Linked DNA regions of Homo sapiens: regions 2 and 3 are each linked to region 1. Evidence: promoter capture Hi-C in 16 types of primary human blood cells and fetal thymus (Javierre and others, 2016). All regions are on one chromosome and are shown on one strand. Each heading gives the region's core, a stretch centred on a gene start or on the middle of the fragment in contact. The rest is flanking DNA. Distances are from core to core; before and after follow the strand shown. Region 1 holds the start of CD200R1L (CD200 receptor 1 like). Region 2 has its middle 5.2 kb from the start of CCDC80. Region 3 holds the start of GTPBP8 (GTP binding protein 8).

Region 1 (3,678 bases), core at 523-3,022:
CCAAAAGGTGACTCCTTGAAAAGACAAACAAGGTCAATAGAGTACTAGCTGGATTAACAAAGAAAAAAAAAGAGGAGGTTCAAATAACTACAATCAGATATTACACAGGTGACATTACAATTGATCTCACAGAAATACAAAATGTCCTCGGAGACTATTATAAACACCTCTATGCACACACACTAGAAAAATCTAGAAGAGATTGATGAATTCCTGAAAATACACAACCTCCCAAGATTGAATCAGGAGAAATTGAAACCCTAAGCAAACTAATAACAAGTTCTCAAATTGAATCAGTAATTTTAAAAATCTACCAACAAAAGCAGCCCAGGACCACTTTTAGGTCACAAAATTTTAGTTTCACTTCAATCCCAGCCCCCAATTACTCTGAATTCAGCCAGTCACCTAGTCAGTACACCACTGGGATAAGGCAACTCAGAAGGAGTTTTGCTGGATAATGTACACATTTATCACTGCTGCTAGGACAAGTCAAGAAACACCTTATAAGTAAGTAGATCAAGAGTATCCTCATAATCATTGAAAGAAAGCTTTATTTTCAGCTGAAAATGTCACAGTATCAGACTTACCAGACACCATGATAATGATGGAAATCAGTAATCTTGGAGCTGACATCTTCCCTAAAGTATGCTTTTGGAGTGGTTTTCTACTTAAACATAAATCCACTTTAAATCAATCAACAGACTTGGTGAATCTGTTTCTCTTGGTCACTTTTGCTTATTCTGTCTTCAACAGGATTGCAAAACATATTTCTTCATTATCTTGCTTATCTTTAATTTTTGCTGTCATTCTATATGTTTTTGACTGATTAACCACTGATGGGAAATGTCAGTGAGTTTTGCTGTGTAATAAAGCAAAAAAGCCAATGCTTACTACTCATTGCTTCTCCCACAACATTGAAGTAGCAAGATAAACTATATAACAACTCATTTAAAAAGTAGCATTTTGAGAGTATAAATTACATATGGTAAAATGAACAAATCTTGAGTGTATGGTTTGATGAATTTCTACCTATATATGCGCTTATCTAATTACTTCCAAAACCAAGATGTTGATAATTATTATTCAAAGTGTCCTTTGTTCCAAAGTGTCCTTTGTTCCTTCTCTGCTGATATCATCTCCTCCAGAGAAGTTGAGTAAACACTACTCAGACTTCTAATAGCTTTAATTCATTCTGACAGTTTTTGAACTTCACATGCATGAAATTCTTTGCAAATTTCAATTTTTAATGCTGTATAGTAAATTTTCAATAACTATATCACAATTTATTCATCAATTTCTCTGTAGATTTACATTATCCCAGTTTGGGGCTAACATAAAGCTTCTAAGAACATTCTTGTTTTGTACATAATTTTTGGTCTATGTGTACATTCATTTTCTTGGATATACACCTAGGAATTAAATTGTTGGGTTATAAGATAGTCATATGTGTGTCTTTAATAACTACTTTCAGTCATGGTTGAATAGTGCAACCCCCGCCCAACATTTATTTGTTGAAATTCTAATCCCCAGTACCTCAGAAGATGACCTTATTTGGAAATAGGGTCATTGGAGATATAATTAGTTAAGATGTGGCCATGCTGAAATAGATTGGTCCCTAATCCAATATGACTGGCGTCTTTGGTTTATTCTTTTTTTCTTCTTTTGCACTTCTTAGCTTTTTATGGTGTCCTTATAAAAAGAGGAAAACTGGGCGCATACACAGGAACACCATGTGAAGATAAAAGGCAGAGATCTGAGTGATGTTTCTTCTACAAGCCAAGGAAAACCAAAGGTTGCCAGGAAACCACTGGAAACTAAGACCGAAGCAAAGATTCTACCCTTCTGTTTTATAAGATTAAAGATTCTTTTGATGACAGGACACAACATGAAGACTCTTGGATAGGTGAAAGGCAAACCTCTTTGTTACTTATAGCTCCAAACAAGAGAAGAATTCCATGTAGGGCCACACAGTGGTTGCACACAGGGACAGGGTAACAACACACTGGAGCTGTAGAGAGTACCTTATATATGGTAATTGGAGTAGAATTAGGTTTCCTGAGAACCCTGTGCCTTAGCTAATTTGAATAACTTCACAAGCTCTAGGACATAGCTGTCCATGGGGCTGTTTGTAGTTGTCTGGTACTTAGCCCTGGGCAATTAGGGCAGGTATATAGTGACATACAGTGTGAGAACCAGATAAGGGAAGAGGCTGGGGGGACTTAAATCAGATATTCAAGAAGGGGAGCTAACTGTTAGGGGCTCAAAACTGGGACTAGAAGGCATTTTTTTTTTACATGAAAACTATATTAAAATTGACTTCTTGATCTCCACATTAGTGTTAAGCTTGATTACTTGAATTATTTGGGTGGCCTAAGTTGTAGAGCAGAGTTTTAGTAAGTAGTGCATACATTGCCCTAAATAGCACACACACACAAAAATTTTATTATTTTCTCCTTAAAAAGGAGGAAAACAAGTAGGAGTATAAAGAGTCCTTGTAGGCTGGTTCATAACCAAGTTTCACATTGTATGGCCTTAGCCAAGAAAACAGATCCGGGATTTCCAAGATCTCTAACAATATCCTGATTGACTTAAAGTATGTTAAAACATGAGCTATATTTTTGTGTGCGTGACGGTAATCTCTTGGTACATTCCAGGGTTCAAGGTGGCAGGTCCAACAATTATATTTTTGGAGAGTATGAAGTTAGTTAAGTAAGGTATATGTAAAGATTAATGACGTTTGTAACCTAGAGGAAGAGGTAGCAGCTGTGGGTCATGGGTGCAGGGCAGGATGTTGTGGTGGCAAACTGGAATGGAAAGTGTCAGAGGAGGTAATGGGCAATGGGAGGTCCTCTCTCCAGGGGGTTAAGTGGTGAACCCATATGAGGCAGTTGCTTCCTGGGGAAAGCAATAATCTCATTAATTATTAGAATGGCTCAAAGAGTAATACACTCTACCAGATTTTCCTTTAGGCATGGAAGTATAAAGGGGTACACTTTGGCAAAGAACAAGAGTTTAAGCAAATGGTGAACTCAGGAAACGAAACAGAATTTCTTATATCAAAGGAAGTAAAATGATAAATGTCCTGTGTCCAATTTTTTAGCTCCTTAGGAAAGCCAGCCTATGGATGTTGCTGGGGTGGTGGTCTCAGTGTCCAGGGTGAAGTCGTTTCTGGGGAAAAGGGCAAATTCATCTTCAAGGTCAAAGTCTTGGGCCGAAGTAATATCATCTATAATGTGAAACTGAAACTGGAACTGTGATGTGGGACATCCTTTTCAAATGATCACAAACTTGAGTTGATGTGGGTCTTATTTTTGTGGCTCTGTGGTACTATAACGAGGCTGAACCACATGTGGAATATGAAGGCAATGTTAGGCCTAGGGGCTTGATATGCAAATATCATTTAAGTCAAGGAGCTTTGAGGTGCACAGTTAGCAAAGGTGAGGTCAGTATCCATGATACTGCTGTTATGTATCAAAGCACTAGAACTGAATGGCATAATTAAAGCCTCAATTAAGTGTGGCTGAATTTAAAATTCCCAACAGCCCAAGGTTTTCAGTTATGAAATAGGTTGTGCTGCAAACAGATCTTCAATCAGGGATTTCTCTTCCAAGATGGCCAACTAGAAACAGCCAGGAGGAATATCTTCCACTGAGACACCCGGGCATTGGAAAGGCTGGC
Region 2 (3,678 bases), core at 725-3,224, 200 kb before region 1:
TGCCTTTTATGGGAGCTGCCAGGGACCTCAAGCCCCTTCAGTCTCAGTTATGGCCATTACGGCACTGGGTGGCCTCCTCTCCCTTCAGAGCTGAGAGCAATTCCTTTTCCAATGGCCCTCCTGCTTGCAGTGAGGACAGGGTCTGGGTGGGCTCCCTTGGCTGGGACAGTCCTTTCTCCAGTGTCCTGACTTCTCACACTTGGAGCAGCAACCGTTGCCTGCAGGTTTGCTGTTGAGCCTGTTTGGTCTGCGGTGAAGCGTCTTCCTGGGTGACCCTGAGGTTGCAGGGCACTGTTTACAGTGACTGCTAATCATTTGGGCTGGCTGTCTATCCCATTTTTTGCCATTCTGGGTCATTTCAGCCATTTTAGCTCTGTCCCTATTATTGAATACCCCAAAAGCCACACCAAACATTTCATTAATAGGTGTGTAGAGTTCCAAAGCCAATTTCTGTAATGTTCTTCTTATGTCAGGTGCTGACTGGCTAATAAAGTGTGTCTGTAGAAAAATTTGGCCAGCGTCAGTACTGAGATCAATGTTAGTATATGTTCTTAGGTCCTCCACAAAGGTGCCCCTGAAACAAAGCTGAGTTTTCATCCTTTTCTTATTTATCTTATTTTATTACAGTTCGCGGGCTTAGTGGTATATTGTTTCATTCCCTCCACCAAACAAGTCACCATATGATTTTTCTTAGATCAACCTGGTCCTGTTGATAGTTCCAGTAAGGGTCATTGCTAGTCACGGATGTGGCCCCCACAGTGTATCGTTCAGGATCCCCAGCAGACAAGCTGTAAGCATAAGCCTGGGTGCTTTTTCTTTACTCTTTTTTTTTGAGACAGAGCCTCGCTCTGTCCCCCAGGCTGGAGTGCAGTGGTATGATCTCGGCTCACTGCAACCTCTGCTCCCGGGTTCACACCATTCTCCTGCCTCAGCCTCCCGAGTAGCTGGGACTACAGGCGCCCGCCACCACACCCAGCTAATTTTTTTTTGTATTTTTAGTAGAGACGGGGTTTCACCATGTTAGCCAGGATGGTCTCGATCTACTGACCTCGTGATCTGCCCACCTCCACCTCCCAAAGTGCTGGGATTACAGGCATGAGCCACCACGCCTGGCCCTCTTGATCCCTGTTTTTTCAGGATCTTATTAGGCCATAGCTTCCGAAGCTATTTCAAGCTTCATTTTGCTAGTCATGTGAAACTGCTGCTTGGAATTTTCTAATCTCCTCCAACCACCCTGTATTATTCCTTTCTCACAGGGATGTTCTGAGAAAGCGTAACCCCCAAAAGAAACACTTAGTATTGTCCATGAAATGTCAACAAAGTCACATGTTTAATCCAAAATTGAAGGAAACTGTGTACTTTAAAAATAAAAGTTACCTAATGGGATAATGGTCAAAGCTCTTGAGAACAGTTGTTAATATTCTTTCTTTATGCATTTATTTTTAATTACTTAGAGTTTGCTGGGGAAACCTTGTAGGCACCTTTTTGTCCCTGTAGCAGGTTGCTTAATTAAGAAAATGTCCATCTCCTAGCTAGTACAAATTAAAGATCTTGCCCTAGCAGAAATTAAGGAGCTGTGTGAATGGCCCAAAGATTCATTTTAAATCTCCAGAGTGAATGATTTAAAGTTCAATTATTTATTGGTTGTTATTTTATGTAAAAGATGTGAACTTGTGGGCATATGAATTTGCTGCTTGGGGGACTAGTGCTTGGGTCTGGAAGGGGTGGATTTAAAGTCTTTATCATTGGTTATTTAATGCATACAAAAGATTTACATCGATTGGATCTGAAGGAGAACATTCCAATTGTACCTTTCTCCGTGCCCTTAGGTATGGCCAAGAAGATAAAGATGATATAATTTTTTTCTCCTTTTTTTCAATCCTTCTCTCAAATGTTTGGCAAAAATGCAGACTGAGCACCGGGAATGACACAGAACCAAGCAGACTCTCCCCTCTAGAAGTTCACAGCCCATTGGAGAAGATAAATATTATACTCTCCACAGCAGTGCTGCCAACTTTCTCTGCATGTAAAAGTTCAGTGCTGACTATGGCTGCAGCCAGTATGCACAGAGTTCATTTCTGTTGGAGAATTTGCCTCTTCAATTCCTTGAGCAGGCTTTCCACAGAAGGAGGCTTGCCATGGCAGCAACTGTGTGTCACCTATAAGATCTTGCTTGGTATGTCCTTTTGGCTGTGGAGTCCCCTAGAGTCCCAGATACTCTTGTCTGGCAGACAAGTGTTGTATCTCATTTTCCCAGTCCCAATTTCGGCCCGGCACCTGTCCTGCTAGGATTGCCCTATCCTTTAGTGGTCGGTTCACTGTACTGACCTTGCATGGCAGGTCTTGACCACATCACTCAGAATATCACCTTACATCAGAAAGTGTGAACCAACAGGATGGCAGCTCATTCATTCGACAAATATTTACTCAATGCAAGGCACTATTCTACTCACTAGGGATACATAAATGAACATTCCCTGACTCCCGGGAGCTTACATTACAACGGTGGGAAACAGACAATAAAAATAAAAACAAAATACCTAAGCCTACATACGTACTTGAAAGAGTTTTTTTTGTTGTTTTTTTGTTTTTTGTTTTTTAAAGGGAGGGAGTAAATGTTGATGAAGGGGAAGAGGCCATTTTAGATACCCTTATCCAAAGAAAAGGATTTTAAGTGAGAATGGAAAGCAAGTCACTCAAGTATTGGGGGAGGGGAAGAACATTCAGAGTAGAGGGAATGGTGAGTGCACAGGCACTGACACCCGGGCTATTTCACAAGCTTGTTCCAGAAGAGCAATGTTGGCCGATTTTAAGCAAGGATGTGGCAAAGCTTGATATGTGACTTAACAGGAATGCTAGGAATGCTGCCTGGAGAATAGAGTGTGGCTGCAAGAATGACAACAGTTAACCAACTGGTGAGGAAGATAATGTAGTGGTACAAGTGAAAGGTGCAGTCTATTGAACCAGCGTGCTAGAAGCACGGTAAGTGCAGAAAAGTCACTCGATGTGGTATATATTTTGAAAACAGAGCTGACAGAAGCAGTTTGGGGCAGAAAGAATCAAATGTTTTGTTTGAAATTCCCATCAGACACTCTGATACAGATGTCAAGCAAGCAGTTAGATACATGAGTCTGGACTTCGAGGAGGACTGAGGCTGGAATTATAAATTCGAGAGGCTATTTAAAGCAAGCTTGCCCAACCCGTGGCCCATGGGCTGCATGCAGCCCAGGGTGGCTTTCAATGTAGCCCAACACAATTTGTAAACTTTCTTAAAACATAGAGATTTTTTTTTACTTTTTTTTTTTTTTTTTTAGCTTATCAGCTATCGTTAGTGTATTTTATATGTAGCCCAAGACAATTCCTCTTCTTCCAGTGTGGCCCAGAGAAGCCAAAAGATTGGACACCCCTGATTTAAAGCCTAAGGCTAGAAGAAATTACTTAGGGACTGGTAGAGGAAGAAAAAGAGTAAAGGACATGAAAGAGGAACAGCTAGTGTGATGGGGGAAAGGCAGGAGCACGCAGTGTTTTCAGTAGCCGGCAGCTGGGACCATGTTACTTCTTTGGCCGTTTCTCCACAGGTCCTTGCTACATGTGTCCAGATTCAGCTTATTCATCAGTGTCCAGGCCCTGCATCACCTCCTCCACAGGGTTTCCCGATGCTCCAACCCAGATGGCTCT
Region 3 (3,678 bases), core at 633-3,132, 150 kb after region 1:
GACTCAAAGGCCACATGGCCAGATAGGTCTTTCACCTCTGCAAACCGTTAAACATCCTTCCAGTAAGACATAATCGTTAAGCCCACGGTGTTAAAGAAACCCAGTGAGCTGTTCCCCGCAGGTCACCGCCTGCCTCCACCCTCCTCCCGCGCACTGAAGGCAAAACACTTAGACCGGAACGAGCGAGGCCAGAGGAGACAACAACTCCCAGCAGGCGTCGCGGCAGCGGGAAGTCACGCACGCGCAACCCAGGCCACAGGAGTAAAATCTCTCTGCCCGTCTTCTGGGAAGGGAGAATGGCGGCGCCCGGGCTGCGGCTGGGAGCGGGAAGACTCTTTGAAATGCCTGCGGTGCTAGAGCGACTGAGCCGCTATAATAGCACGTCCCAAGCTTTTGCTGAGGTGCTGCGGCTGCCGAAGCAGCAGCTGAGGAAGCTGCTGTACCCGCTGCAGGAAGTAGAGCGGTTCCTCGCCCCCTACGGGAGGCAAGACCTTCACCTGCGTATCTTTGACCCAAGCCCGGAGGACATAGCCAGGGCGGACAACATCTTCACGGCCACTGAACGGAACCGCATCGACTACGTCAGCTCCGCCGTCCGTATCGACCACGCCCCGGACCTTCCGCGGCCAGAGGTGAGAGGCGATTCTCACGGTTCACCTGCGCGCCGGCGTCACAGCGCTAACCGCTTCCCTGGCCGTCCGGCTCGCGGGTGATTTTGCGGTTGTATTTTCTAGCTTTATGTTGGCGCATATATTATTTTAACTCAATAGGCATATGTCGATGCTCCCTGTACGTGGGGATACCCGAGAAACCCATTGTTAAGTACAAAATGCAGTCAATACCCATAAACCCATGGTAAAGTCAAAAATCGTTAAGTCGACCCACTGTAAGCAGAGACTGCCTGTATACAGCTTAAATTATTTTGGAATGAATATAGAAGACTTCAAAATGCTTTAAAAGCTTTTCAAACCCAAATTAAGCATTCAAAAAATTAACTCTCCTTTTTTCTTCTATTTAACTTAAGTAGGGAAAACATGCCAGACAAATTAGACAGAATTTAGACAGTGAAGAATAGGAAACGAATAATAGTTTCACAAATGAGATGGTCCTTATCAATAAGTAACTTTCGCCTAATCTAAATTTCCTATCGTGCAAAAATAATAATCTCTAGATGGCAATAATGTGGAAAAATTTTTATAACAACGTTTATTAGTGAAATTTCATGAGTGAGCATTCTTGCATGTCCTACAATTTATTGATATTCTGTTCTAAGTCTGCTAAAAGGCATCTCAACTCTCCATATGTATTTACACTAAGTGCACCATTGCCCAGAGATATTTCGTCTAAATATATGTGGAACTATAGTCAGGATTCAAAGAGTACCTCAATTATTTAATGATTTTGAGACAGCCATTGCTTTTTTATTTAAGCTTCTAAATTACTGGACTTTTTTGTAATTCGTTTTTAAAATTCAGTTTTATCTACATATTAGCATTAGATTTGCTCTGGCAGAGCATTTAAAATTTTTGCAGGACTCAGATCAATTAATTTTGAAGAACTGACCAGAATTTTCCAGGATAGGATCCCTGGCCCCTGCCCACTAAATGTCCCCCAATTGTCTTGATAACCAAAAATGCCCTTAAAATCTCCAAAATGTCCCTCAAGGGGCAGTACGGCCGTCATTTAGAACAACTGATTGGCATTGTACCCCCTCCCCCAATACCATGTTCAAAAGCAGAGCCATGTGTATTAATGGTTATTATCGAGAATATTCTGTTGTTTTCCACACTACAGAGGAGACAAGCTTAATTGGAACAAGAGAGGTCAAGGGAAAAGAGTAAGTTTTTAAATTGCAGTGGTGTTACAGTATACCATGGGAGTGCTTGAGAAAATGTGCTTCCAAACATGTAGTTGTACTTTTCATCTAGTTCTGTTGAACTACATCTAGTTTTTACTCTAAAAAGCTTTGTAAATATGAAATGCTTAATAAAAGTTGCATATATTCTTGAGTAGCGTAGTGAAACTAAAAGCACAGATTCTAGATATACATGTCCTGAGTTCAAATCCCAACTCCTTCACTTTCTAGCTGTATAATTTTGGGTTAGTTGTGTTCTCTCATCCGTAAAATGGGGATAATATCACCTACCTCCTAGATGCTGTAAAAAATGAATAAGAAAATATATGCTGAATGCTTAAAATAGTACCTGGCACATTTAATTCATTCAATAAATATTAGCTGTGTTAGAATTTGAAGTTTTTTACATCTAATGCAGAATAGCATATACAGCTAGTACGTACTTATCTTGTTTTTTCTTGTATAAGGTGTGTTTTATAGGCAGAAGCAATGTTGGAAAATCATCTCTAATCAAGGCTTTATTTTCACTGGCCCCTGAGGTTGAAGTCAGAGTCTCCAAAAAACCAGTATGTTGAAGTTTTTAAATATGTTTGGACTATCTCTTGGATTAACTAACATGAATAATAAATGCTGGAAGGTATAAGAAATCATAATTACTAAGTTCCTAGAGAAGTGATTTCTTTCAAAAAAGTAATAAAGTAAGACATCCTAATGCCTGTGTATTCCTCTGAAGAAAAGGAAGTGTAGCTGGATTTATTTTAGTAGTCTAGACAATATCTTCAGAAAGTCTTTCTTTATCCAAATTTTGCAGAGTTGCCAAATAAAGTGTCTTATTGTCATTCTATATTTCCTCCTATAACAGTGATCATCTAGTTCTACACTGATTGTACGGTAAATGGCTTTTAGGTTTTTCTTGCTTTTTTCCTCCTATAATCTTTTTTAAGGTATAAAGTACGTGATTAGTTACACACACACATTCGGCATATTCTTATGTGCTTGTTTTCCTAGCCAGTCTGCTGTAATAGCTTTCTTTCATTTTCTAATTCCCTCTACTTTCTTCTCAACGACGCAGTCTCTGCCAATATCTAAGATACCCTTTCTTCAAAATCACCCCCACTTTGTCTCACCATATCTGGCCATGGTAAACCTTTCCACCAACCCTAATGTTCACTATCCCTGTGTATGTGCGTGCACGAACGCACACACACCCCTTTCATTGAGTTGGAACCCTTCCATGAGACTTCACTAGGTCTTTTCTTGCTCCTCACTTCATAAAATGATTCTCTGGCTCCATCGCTAATGATTCTTCCCATTACTTAACCCTCCCATCCTTACTCCTGCCCCGCCTCACCAAATAAATCAGCCAAATGATCACTTCTAAGTAGAGTGATCTCCTTCCTTTTGTGAGAGGACAATGGAGGAAATGTATTCTTGACATTCCCAATCTGTAATTCTAAAATCATTTTCCTGTAGACAAATAAACTGACTGGGAACTTAAAATCACCATTTATAAAAATCTTTCCTTTGATAATATTTGTTCTAAGATCCAAACAATTGACTTAACTTTAAAAATTGCCTATCTTGCCGGGCACAGTGGCTCATGCCTGTAATCCCAGCACTTTGGGGAGGCCGAGGCTGGCCAATCACCTGAGGTTGGGAGTTCGAGACCAGCCTGACCAACATGGAGAAACCCCATTTCCACTAAAAATACAAAATTAGCCAGGCGCGGTGGTGCATTCCTGTAATTCCAGCTAATCGGGAGGCTGAGGCAAGAGAATCGCTTGAACCCAGGAGGTGGAGGTTGCGGTGAGCTGAGATTGCAC

Evidence for each region. The method cuts DNA at HindIII sites, captures the fragments that hold promoters and counts their contacts. A CHiCAGO score of 5 or more calls a contact.
Region 2: a contact is called between a fragment that was not itself captured here and the fragment with the promoter of CD200R1L in region 1, in 1 of 17 cell types (M1 macrophages). The highest score is 6.8, in M1 macrophages.
Region 3: a fragment that was not itself captured here is called in contact with the fragment with the promoter of CD200R1L in region 1 in 1 of 17 cell types (M1 macrophages); the score reaches 5.2 in M1 macrophages.

The regions. Positions count from the first base shown.
Region 1 is chr3:112,845,092-112,848,769 of GRCh38, forward strand. It overlaps CD200R1L (CD200 receptor 1 like), which reads right to left and starts at 1,773. Exons shown (of 8, transcript NM_001199215.3): 1 at 1,534-1,773; 2 at 588-859. The HindIII fragment of the contact is 1,004 bases long and covers 1,338-2,341 here.
Region 2 is chr3:112,644,467-112,648,144 of GRCh38, forward strand. No RefSeq gene overlaps it. Among named protein-coding and RNA genes, the nearest start is that of CCDC80, 5.2 kb to the left of the region's middle. The HindIII fragment of the contact is 1,605 bases long and covers 1,173-2,777 here.
Region 3 is chr3:112,990,704-112,994,381 of GRCh38, forward strand. GTPBP8 (GTP binding protein 8) reads left to right here and starts at 281. Exons shown (of 6, transcript NM_014170.4): 1 at 281-632; 2 at 2,323-2,421. The coding sequence starts at 297. RefSeq lists enhancers at 1-450, 329-538. The HindIII fragment of the contact is 160 bases long and covers 1,803-1,962 here.